2 separate regions of the Homo sapiens genome follow, and region 2 is linked to region 1. The links are contacts of gene promoters, found by promoter capture Hi-C in human tissues and cell types (Jung and others, 2019). All regions are on one chromosome and are shown on one strand. The core of a region is centred on a gene start or on the middle of the fragment in contact, and the rest is flanking DNA. Distances in the headings are between cores, read along the strand shown.

Region 1 (6,093 bases), core at 1,333-3,832:
CAACCCCATGGGCTCAAATGATCCCTGCACAGTGCTGGGATTACAGGTGTGAGCCACCATGCCTGGCCTCCAGCTAACTTCTTATTTTGTAATTTTTTTGTAGAGACGGGGTCTTGCTATGTTGCCCAGACGGGTCTCAAACTCCAGGCCTCAAGCAATCCTCCCAACTTGGCCTCCCAAAGCACTGAGGTTGCAGGCATGAGCCACCTCACCCAGCCTTGCTTCCTTTTAATCCGCCCCTCACACGGAAGCCAGAGAAATCTTTAAGTATGAGTCAGATCAGATCATTTTCCTGCTCAAAACATCTCCATGCTGCTGGGGTGCTTTGTTGTGCTTCCAACCCCACCACATACTAGCATTCATTTTATTCCTGGAACACGATTTCTGGCCTCAGGGTCTTTGCCATTCTGTTCCCTCTGCCTGGGATGCTCTTCCCTGCACTCTTTGCTGGACAAGCTCCTACTCATCCTTTAGATGTCAGCCTGCTGTATATCCCCAAAGGAGCCCCCTCTTGGCCTCAATATAAATTGGGTCCCCAAGCTTTTTGCTTTCATGGCAAACACAACTTCTCATCACAGTCTAATCAAGTGTAACACTTGATGTGTGTGATTACCCCTTGTCTGCACTGCACAGCAAGCCCCATAAAGAAAGGTCCATGTCTCTGTCACTCTCATTGTGTCCCCAAAACAGGCATGCAATAAATGTTGGTACAACAAATAAATGTGGGATTTTTAGAGCCTTTGCTATAGATCCTTTGCACGCTGTGACCGCCCAAAAAAGGGACAGCATTTTTCCAAGTCCTATCTGCAGGATGCCCAATGGGCTAGGACACTTCTGTCAACTATTGCCCAGAATAATTCAGCAGAACACCATTTGAAAACCACTGATTGGTAGGGTGCAGTGGCTCATGCCTGTAATCCCAGCACTTTGCAAGGCTGAGGCGGGAGAATCGCTTGAGTTCAGGAGATTGAGACCAGCCAAGGCAACACAGGGAGACCCCATTTGTACAAAAAATAAAAATAAAAAAGTTAGCAGGGCATGCTGGTGAGCTATGATAGTACTACATTTCAGCCTGGGCAACACAGAGAGACCCTGTGAAAGAAAAGACAGAAAAGAAACGAGAGAGAGAGAGAACAGAAAACACACACAGAGAGAGAGAGGAGGCAAAGAAGGAAAGAAGGAAGGAGAAAGGGAAAGAAAGGAAGAAATAAATAATAAAAGAGAGAGAAGAAAGAAAGAAAGAAAGAAAAAAGGGAAAAGAAAGAGAAACAGAGAGGTGGGAGGGAGGGAAGGAAGGAAAGAAGGAAGGAGAAAGAAAGGGAAAGAAAGGAATAAGGAAAGAAATAAAAGAAAGAAGGAAAGAAAGAAAGAACAAAGAAAAGAAAGGAAAAGAAAGAAAAAGAAAGAAAGAGAAAAAGAAAGAAAGGAAAGAAAAAGAAAATCACTGATATTGTGGCTGAGCTCATGGCCACAGGAATTGAGTCTTGGCTTGGCCACTCACTATCTGTATTACCTTGAGCAAGTTATTTAATGACCCTTAGACTCTGTCCATGAATTAGGGGGTGCTGTACCTACCTTACAGGGTTTCTGTGTCAGTTAGATGAGATCCAGGCGTAAAGTTCTCTGCACGTGTCTGACACGTACCAGTGAAGACTTGTATTTGCCTTGTAGTTAACAGCAGCTGCAGTTGTAGTAAATACATTCCTATAGCTTTTTAATGCTTATGTGGATACATTTACCTTCGTTATCTCTGGGTAACACACCTGTGGGGTGGGTCAGCCTGAGGTTCATATTCCCATTTGACAGATAAGGAACCTGAGACTCGGTGAGGCAAAATGTTTGGCTCAATGTCCCTGACCTTGGTTAAGTGGAAGAGCTGGGACCCACGTACGGTGCTGCTGGCTGCCGGCTGCTGGCTTCATACCACCATGCCCACCCCACAAACACACTCCATTGTCCTGGTGTATGACAAGCTTTCTCTGCAGAGAGGGCTGAGCTTCCCCTGCCCCACAGGTGACAGCTGGAGTCCTTCTGCCAGCACCTGTCCCCAGACCAACTTCCCAGTTTGGAGAGTGGCTACCTGTTTGGGGGCAGGGGGTGTCTTACCTTATTCCAGATGCAGGGCTCACCTGCCCTGGGGGCTGTCAGTGGCTTCTAAGGCACTAGGAGGTGGCGGTGGTTGTAAGGAGGGAGATACCCGGGATCCTCTCTCTTTGCAGCCAAGAGCTTCCGGAGACAGCAGTGACCCTTCCTCCTATATGCCCGCTGCTGAGAGAGCCTCCAAGCGGGTCAAACTCCAAACTCCAGCCTCAGCTGCAGCGGGGATTAAAGGAAGCGTGAATGATCTCCCCAGGGCAGAAGAGAGAACGGGGCCCAGCCCAGGACCCTTGAACTCTGAGCAGGTGGGGAAGGTGACATGTCCCACGCTCTGCCCACACCGTCCTCCACCAGGGTCCTCACCTGCGTGGGGACCCATGGCATGGAGGGGTTGGGGAGACGCTGGAGCCCAAGGCACCATCCTGCTTCACTCACCCAGTCTTCCACTGTCCCGCCTCCACGCTGGGGACAGGCAGGCTTGGGACGAGCTGGAGGAAGGGGAGGGGAGGAAAAATGCTGGCGGCGGATGGAGGGGACAGAGGCAAAGTGCCAGGAGGGACGTCCAGCCACAGCCCTCACCGCAGTGGCAGCAACAGGAACAGCAACCATTGCTTGTGCAACCCCTTTCCATATACTCTTCAGACAGAGGCATGGCAAAGAACAGGTGTCTGCCTGAAGTCGAGAGTTCGAGACCAGCCTGACCAACATGGAGAAACCCCATCTCTACTAAAAATACAAAGTTAGCCGGGTATGGTGGTGCATGCCTGTGGTCCCAGCTACTCGGGAGGCTGAGGCAGGAGAATCACTTGAATCCGGGAGGCGGAGGTTGTGGTGAGCCGAGATTACACCATTGCACTCCAGCCTGGGCAACAAGAGCGAAAATCAGTCTCAAAAAAAGAAGAAGAAGAAGAAGAAGAGGTGTCTGAGGCCCTGAAAAACCGTCAGGAGTGACCGAGCCATGGCCAGGCGCCCACATCGGGCCCAGGACATCAGCGGGGCATAGCGAAGATTTCTGCCAGATGCTCAAAGCATCCAAAACTTTATTTACTTTTTATTTCTGAGACAGGATCTCACTCTGTCACCCAGGCTGGAGTGCAGTGGTGGCATCACAGCTTGCTGCAGGCTCATCCTCCTGGGCTCAAGTGATCCTCCCACCACAGCCTCCCGAGTAGCTGGGACTACAGGCGTGCACCACCACACCCAGCTAATTTTTTCATTTTTTTGGTAGAGAGAGAATCTTGCTATGTTGCCCAGGCTGGTCTCCAACTCCTGGGTTTAAGTGATCCTCCCACCTTGGCCTCCCAAAGTGCTGGGATTACAGGGGTCAAACACTGTGCCAGGCCAAATACCAAAACATTTTAAAAATAGTTACTAGTATTTGCAAACCAAGAGGCTTGAAACATAATTCTAGAATACTCACTTTTCTAGAACAACCTGAAGATCTGGCCTCACCAGGCCCCCATGGCCACAGGACAGCTGCTGACTGGGGAGGAGTCGTGGCCTCCCCATCTCACTCCTTCACTGGGCCTGCCAGGCTCTGGGGGGCCCTCAGCTGAGGCCCCTGTCCTGGCACCGAGTAGCCAGAAATAATAGCAGTGATGAACACGTGCCAGGCTCTAAGGGCACAACATGCCTTTACTCACTTGGTCTTTCCAACAACCCTCGAAGTTAGGTCCTGTTATCTCTATCTTACTGACGAGGTAACAGAGGTAGAGGAGATGAGTCATCGGCCCAGGATCACCCGGGTTGTAAGTGACACAGCAAGATTTCAGCCCAGGCCACCTGGCTCTAGAGTCCTGCAGGAGCAGTGGAGGGTGGCTTGACTGGATAAAGGGTGGCCTGGGTGAGCAAACACTGGGTGACTGACCAACACCAGTATGAATGGGGCCTTTGGGGGAGGGACCTGCCCTGGGGGACAGATTTACAGAAGGAACAGCTGGGATTGGAGAAGAGGGACAGACAGAAGGCCATGAATCTGTGATCTGCAGCAGAGGCCACAGCACCAGGAAAGGCAGTGGGGTGCCACCGAGGGTGCACTGCTTCGCCAACCTGGGGTCCAGTCCTGACTTCTTGGGAATGTCTGGGGAGCCTTAGCCATGTGCAGGGTGTCTACAGAAGAGGCGTGGTAGTGAGTGAAGCCGGGCAGGTGGAGCTGAGGCTGACCCGAGAGCATGTGTCCCAGCTGAAGAGGACAGCCACGACCCAGCTCCACGTGGGGGAAGACAGGCCCAATGGGGTCAGAACTTCTGATTGTTCTAGAGAAGTTCTGCAAAGTTTCATGATTACGCATCCTTGAGGGCCAGATGTGGCCTGCTCGACCCTTGGCTTGTCACCTCCGATTGTTTCTCTGTCAGGTTTTTCATTTTTACCCTCAGTGCTATAAAGAATAGGAGAGGTGGAGTGCAGGGGCTCATGCTATCATCTCAGAGCTTTGGGAAGCTGAGGCAGGAGGATCTCTTGAGGCCAGGAGTTAGAGGCCAGTCTGGGTAACTCAGTGAGACCCTCATCTCTACACAAAATAGGAAGAATTAGATGGACATAGCAGTGTGCACCTGTAGTCCCAGCTACTCAGGAGACTGAGGTGGGAGAATCGTTTGAGCCCAGGAGTTCAAGGCTGCAGTGAGCCATGATAGTGCCACTACACTCGAGGCAACAGAATGAGATCTCAATTCAAAAAAAAAAAAAAAAAAAAAAAGAACTGTATAACCACTTTAGAGAACTATTTGGACATTTCTTATAAAGTTACCATACACTTTGCCGAGCGCGGTGGCTCATGCCTGTAATCGCAGCACTTTGGGAGGCCAAGGTGGGTGGATCACAAGGTCAGGAGTTCAAGACCAGCCTGCACTCGTCTCTACTAAAAATACAAAAATTAGCTGGGTGTTGTGGTGGGCCCCTGTAATCCCAGCTACTCAGGAGGCTGAGGCAGGAGAATCATTTGAACCTGGGAGGCAGATGGAGGTTGCAGTGAGCCAAGACCGTGCCATTGCACTCCAGCCTGGGTGACAAGGCGAAACTCCATCTAAAAAATAAAATTAAATAAATAAATAAATAAAGTTACCATACACCTCCCCCATGACCCAGCAATTTCACTCTTAGGTATTTATCAAGAGAAATGGAGACATATGTTCCCAAAAAGTTGTGCACACAAGTGTTCATGGTGGCCTTATTCAAAACTGTTTCTAAGTGGAAACAACACCAGTTCCATCGACAGGTGAGTGAAGAAACAAACTGCGGTGCATCCAACACCGTGAAAAACTTTCATCGAAAGGAATGAACTACCCAACCCACGCAACACCACGGATGAATCGAAGACTCTACGAAACATTATGCTGAGCAAAAGGAGCTGACCTGGGCTGGGTGCGGTGGTCACACCTGTGATCCCAGCACTTTGGGAGGCCGAGGTGGGTGGATCGCCTGAGGTCAGGAGTTCGAGACCAGCCTGGCCTATGTTGTAAAACGCTGTCTCTTCCAAAAATATAAAATTAAATTATCCTGCTGTGGTGGTGTGCGCCTGTGGTCCCAGTTACTCGTGAGGCTGAGACAGGAGAATTGCTTGAACCCAGGAGGTGGAGGCTGCAGTAAGCCAGGATCACGCCACTGGACTCCAGCCTGGGTGAGACAGAGCAAGACTCCATCTCAAAAAAAAAAAAAAAAAAAAAAAAAAAAAGCTGACATGAAAAGAGTACAGACCTTATGATTCAATTTATGTGAGGCTCAAGAACAGGAAAGATGGATTTGTGGTGACAGAAGTCAAAGAACAGGACCCAGTGAACAACTGGAAGAGGGTGGGAGTGTGCTCTCAGAGGTGATGGAAATTTCTATTATCTTGAATTGGGTGGTAATTATACGGTATATACAATTGGTAAAACCCCGTGAATTGAAGGATGAACACTTATGCTTTTTTTTTTTTTTTTGACCAAGTCTCACTCTATCACCCAGGATGGAGTGCAATGGCGCCATCTCAGCTCACTTAAACTTCTGTCTCCTGGGTTC
Region 2 (6,093 bases), core at 2,658-5,157, 330 kb before region 1:
TGTGGCGAGAGAGGCTGTTTTACAGCATTTTACTCACAGTAGAACTTCTTTCAAAATTGGAGTCATTCCTTTTAAACTTTGCTGCTGCTTTATCAACTAAATTTGTGTAACATCTTAAATCCCTTATTGTCATTTCAACAATGTTCACAGCATCTTCAAGGATGTAGGAGTAGATTCTATCTCAAGAAACCACTTTCTCTGCTCATTCATAAGTAGCAATTCCTCATCCGTTGAAGTCTGATCATGAGATTGCAGCAATTCAGTCACATCTTTATGCTCCATTCCTAATTCTAGTTACCTTGCTATTTCCACCACATCTGCAATTCCTTCCTCTACTGAAGTCTTAAATGCCTCAAAATCATCCATGAGGGCTGGAATCAACTTCATCCAAACCCATTAAGGTTGATATTTCGACCTCCTCCCATGCATTACTAATTTTTTTTTTTTTTTTTTTTTTGAGACGGAGTCTAGCTCTGTGGCCCAGGCTGGAGCGCAATGGCGTGATCTCGGCTCACTGCAACCTCCGCCTCCCGGGCTCAAGCAATTCTCCTGCCTCAGCCTCCTCAATAGCTGGGATTACAGGCATGTCCCACCACACCCGGCTAATTTTTGCATTTTTAGTAGAGAAGGGGGTTTCACCATGTTGGCCAGGCTGGTCTTGAACTCCTGACCTCAAATGATTTGCCCATCTCGGCCTCCCAAAGTGCTGGGGTTACAGGCATGAGCCACCGTGCTCGGCTACTAATGTTCTTAATGGCATCTAGAATGGTGAATCCTTTTCAGAAGGTTTCCAATGTACTTTACCCAGATCCATCAGAGAAATCACTACCTATGGTGGCTACAGCCTTACAAAATGTATTTCATTATTATTTTTTTTTTTTTTGAGATGGAGTCTCACTCTGTCGCCCAGGCTGGAGTGCAGTGGCGTGATCTTGGCTCACTGCAACCTCTGCCTCCCAAGTTCAAGCGATTCTCCTGCCTCAGCCTCCCAAGTAGCTGGGACTACTGCCGCCCGCCACTGCGCCGGGTTAATTTATGTATTTTTAGTAGAGACGGGGTTTCACCATATTGGCCAGGCTGGTCTGGAACTCTTGACCTTGTGATCCACCCACCTCGGCCTCCCAAAGTGCTGGGATTACAAGCGTGAGCCACTGCACCTGGCCTTACAAAATACATTTCTAAATAGTAAGACTTGAAAGTCAAAATTACTCCTTGATCCGTGGGGCTGCAGAATGAATGTTGTGTCAGCATGCATGAAAACAGCATTCATCGCCTTGCACATCTCTGTCAGAGTTCTTTGGTGACCAGGTGCACTGTCAATAAGCAATAATATTTTGAAAGTAATTTTTTTTCTCAGTAGTAGGTGTCAACAATGGCCTTAAAATACTCAGTAAACCACACCGTAATCAGATGTGCTGTCACCTGGGCTTTGTTGTTCCATTTCTATAGCACACAGATTTGGCACCTTTTTTTTTTTTTTTTGAGACAGAGTCTCACTCTGTCACACAAACCGGAGTGCAGTGGCACAATCTTGCTTCAGTGCAACTTCCACCTCCCAGGTTCAAGCAATCCTCGTGCCTCAGCCTCCCAAGTAGCTGGGACTACAGGCATGCACCACCACACCCAGCTAATTTTTGTATTTTTTAGTAAAGATGGGGTTTCACCATGTTGGCTCGGCTAGTTTCGAACTCCTGGCCTCAAGCAATCCGCCTGCCTTGGCATGACCCACTGCACCCAGTGGATTTAGCATAATTCTTAAGGGCCCTAGGATTTTCAGAATGGTAAATAAGCACTGACCTTAACTTAATGTCACCAGCTGCATTTCATACTAGACACTAAGAAGTCAGGCTTTCCTATGAAGTTTTGAAGCCAGGCATTGAATTCTCCTCTCTAGCTTTGGAAGTCCTAGATGGCATCCTCTTGCAAGAGAAAGCTGTTTTGCCTACATTGAAAATCTGTTGTTTAGTGTAGCCACCTTCCTTCATCAATGATCTCAGCTGGATCTTCTGGACAACTTGCTTCAGTTTCTCCATCAGCACCTGCTGCTTCACCTTGCACTTTTATGTTATGGAGACGGCTTCTTTCCTTAAACCTCAGGAACCAACCTCTGCTAGCTTCCAACTTTTCTTCTGCAGCTTCCTCTCCTCTCTCAGCCATCACATAATTGAAGAGAGTTAGGGCCCTGCTCTCGATTAGGCTTTGGCTTAAGGGAAGGTTGTGGCTGGTTTGATCTTCTATACAGACCGCTCAAACTTTCTCCATATCGGTAATAATACAGTTTCGCTTTCTTATCATTCATGTGTTCACTGGAGTAGCACTTTTTCATTTCCTCCAAGAACTTTTCCTTTGCATTCACAACTTGGCTGTTTGGCACAAGAGGTCTAGCTTTCGGCCTATTTCAGTTTTTTTTTTTTTTTTTTTTTTTTTCAGATGGAGTCTCACTCTGTCACCCAGGCTGGAGTGCAGTGGTGCCATCTTCGCTCACTGCAACCTCTGCCTCCCAGGTTCAAGCGATTCTCCTGCCTCAAACTCCCAAGTAGCTGGGACTACAGGCGCCTGCCACCACACCAGGCTAATTTTTGTACTTTTAGTAGAGATGAGGTTTCACTATGTTGGCCAGGCTGGTCTCAAACTCCTGACCTCAGGTGATCCGCCCACCTCGGCCTCCCAAAGTGCTGGGATTACAGGCATGAGCCACCACAGCCGACCCTATTTCAGCTTTTGACGTGCCTTCCTCACCAAGCTTAATCATTTCCAGCTTTGATTTAAAGTGAAAGGCATGTGACTCTTTGTGACTCTTCCTTTCACTTGAGCATGTAGAGGCCATTGTAGGGTTATTAACTGGCCTAATTTCAATATCAAATTTGGAATAGGACGGATGGGAGGATCACTTGAACCCGAGTTCAAGACCACCCCTGGCAACATAGGGAGACCCTGTCTCCACAAAAAAAGTTAAAAATAGCCAGGCTTGCTGGTGTGTGCCTGTGGTTCAGTTACTCAGGAGGCTGAGGAAGGAGGATCACTTGAGCCCAAGGAGGTTGAGGCTGCAGAGAGCTATGACTGCACTACTGCACTCCAGCCTGGGAGATGGGGCAAGACCCTTTCTGAAAACAACAACAACAAAAAGTAAACATTGTGGGGCCAGGCACGGCGGCTCACGCCTGTAATCCCAGCACTTTGGGAGGCCGAGGCAGGTGGATCACGAGGTCAGGAGATAGAGACCATCCTGCCTAACGTGGTGAAACTCCATCTCTACTAAAAACACAAAAAAAATTAGCTGGGCATGGTGGCGGGCTCCTGTAGTCCCAGCTACTTGGGAAGCTGGGGCAGGAGAATGGCGTGAATCCGGGAGGTGGAGCTTGCAGTGAGCTGAGATCGCGCCACTGCACTCCAGGCTAGGTGACAGAGCAAGACTCCGTCTCAATAAAAAAAGTAAACATTGTTTCTGCTAATGCTATACATATACCAGAGTTACCCCTTTCCTGTGGTTTTGTTTTCCAAGGTTTCCGTTACCTGAGGTCAGTTGAGGTCCAAAAATAAGTGAGTATAGCTAAGATATTTTCTTTTTTTCCAAGATGGAGTCTTGCTCTGTCATCCAGGCTGGAGTGCAGTGGCGCAATCTCGGTTCACTGCAACCTCTGCCTCCTGGGTTCAAGCAATTCTCCTGCCTTACAGATGCCTGCCACCAAGCCCGGATTTTTTTTTTTTTTTTTTTGTATTTTTAGTAGAGACAGGGTTTCACCATGTTGGCCAGGCTGGTCTTGAACTCCTGACCTTGTGATCTGCCCATCTCAGCCCCCCAAAGAGCTGGAATTACAGGCGGCGGGGCGGTGGGGGGGGGGTTTCACCATGTTGGCCAGGCTGGTCTCGAACTCCTGACTTCAGGATCCACCTGTCTTGGCCTCCCCAAGTGCTGGGATTACAGGCGTGCACCACTGCACTCGGCCAGTTAAGATATCTTCAAAGACCACATTCACATAACCTTAACATATTGCTATAGTTGTTCTTTTTTAAATTGTTGCTAGTCTTACTGCACCTAATTTATACATTTTATCACAGGTATTTATTGATAGGAACACATCCCATCAACTGGCATGCCACTAGAGGTGCAGGGCCCACACTCTAGGGGACACTGATTTAAGGATTCTGAATGGTAGAAGAGAGGCTGTTACCTCTCCAGCAGAGGAGAGCGCTGGGGACTTCTGCAGTGCCACCCTGCACATGCAGGTTCAGGCTCGCAGCGCCAGTCACATAACTTAAGAAGTCCCTGTAGACAAGGTCTACCCATCACTCAGGGAGTTCAGCAGACAGGTATGGGACAAGCCTTATGTTTCTGAAATATGAGGTCATCACTCAGGGGCCCTATGAACCTGTCTCATAACTGCATTGACTTCTAGTTGTGGCTGTAAGTTTAAGCCCCCAACTTGGTGGCTCAAAACACCACAGATCAGTCTGGGCACAGAGGCTCATGCCTGTAATCCCAGCACTTTGGGAGGCCAAGACGGGCGGATCACTTGAGGTCAGGAGTTCGTGACCAGCCTGGCCAACATGGTGAAACTCTATCTCCACTAAAAATACAAAAATTAGACAGGCATGATGGTATGCACCTGTAATCCCAGCTACTTGGGAGGCTGAGGCGGAAGAATCACTTGAACCCGGGAGGCAGAGGGTGCAGTGAGCCGAGATCGCGCCACTGCACTCCAAGCCTGGGCAACAGAGCAAGACTCCATCTAAAAAAAAGAAAAAAAAAAAAAAAAAACCACCACCACAGATGTATTCTCTTACGGCTCTGGAGGTGAGAAATCTGAAATCGATTTCTCTGGGCTAACATCAAGGTGTTGGCAGGCAGTTCCAGCTGGAGGCCAAGGGAGGGTCTGCTGCTATTGCCCTAGGTAGCATCCCCTGGTTGCCCCTGCTTCTTGTCTGGGCCCCTCTGACTCTGACGCCTCGTCTGTCCCTCTAATGAGGACCCCGTGATCCTATCAGGCCCACCTGGATAACCCAGGACCACCTCTTCATCTCAAACCCCTAATCCCATTTGCAAAGCCCCTTTGCCACAGAAGGTAACACACACTCACAGGTTCTGGGGATCAGGACATGGACACTTTAGGGGCCATTCTTCAGCCTGCCACCATGACCAAGATGAAGGAGGCAACTGAGCAGGCCAGTGTGGCCAGGGCGGAGACAGGAGCCCGAGAAGAGCACTAGCCTCACATCTGGTGGAGGACAAGGGTCAGGGAGTGAGGCACAATGTCATGTGCTGCAACAAACAGCATGTGAGGGAGTAGATCCTAAAATGGACTCAAGGTCATGGGCCGGGTGTGACTCACAGGGAGTAAGCCAAGGTCAAAGCAGACTTGGGGTCCTTGGCTTTAGCTAACACAGAGGTGAACCCTGGCCCGCCCAAGCCATGGGGCACGGAACGAGCAGCGGCAGCCAGCAGAGGTCCAACCACAGGCGACTGGTGGCAAGTGAGATTTATTTAAACAACGACATGTCAACAGGAACAGGAAGAGGAACATGTGCGACCACTGTAGTGACCAAGGCTTCTCAAGAGTGTGGGATGAGACCTGCGGACGAGGCCCGCCCACCGCTCAGGGAGCTTGCAGGTCTCCTCCAGGAGGGCAAGTGGCTTCGGCTTCTGGCTCGGCATAAGCCTTCGACAGATTAATAAGTTATCTCCTTCAGCCCTGAGGGGAGAGACACACAGACACCATTAGGAGACTCTGGTGGCCAGGAGCAGAGGCCCCTAGAGGACCCCCAGTGACCGGCTCAGGGGCACCAGCCACACTGCTGACCACTGTAGCACCGCCCTCCTGCTACATAAAATGAGGTTTCGCAAGGAAACAAAAGGTTGGGTAAGACTGTGTTTATGGGTGGTTTTAAAATGATTAAGAAAACATTATAACAGTTTATGGACTGTCTGCAGTTAACGCCAAAAATCTACCCTTTATGTGCTGAACTTTGAGCAAAGGCAGATACGGATCTTCCACACACACAGACAAGCACTGATGTCCCAAAGCAGTCACGGGTCAGTGGGGACAAAGTAAATTCCTGACATTAAAATGCTCAATATATTGTTCCTTTGTGAGA

The links. Contacts are between HindIII fragments. The study calls those that stand out against the background at their distance.
Region 2: a fragment that was not itself captured here is called in contact with the fragment with the promoter of SLC5A11 in region 1 in 2 of the 25 tissues and cell types used here (heart right ventricle and spleen).

Annotation. Positions count from the first base shown.
Region 1 is chr16:24,842,452-24,848,544 of GRCh38, reverse strand. It overlaps SLC5A11 (solute carrier family 5 member 11), which reads right to left and starts at 2,582. Exons shown (of 17, transcript NM_001352248.3): 1 at 2,533-2,582; 2 at 2,107-2,313. The HindIII fragment of the contact is 12,271 bases long and covers 1,258-6,093 here.
Region 2 is chr16:25,177,598-25,183,690 of GRCh38, reverse strand. LCMT1 (leucine carboxyl methyltransferase 1) reads right to left here. Exons shown (of 11, transcript NM_016309.3): 11 at 5,463-5,690. The coding sequence ends at 5,668. Among named protein-coding and RNA genes, the nearest start is that of LCMT1-AS2, 32 kb to the right of the region's middle. The HindIII fragment of the contact is 5,979 bases long and covers 918-6,093 here.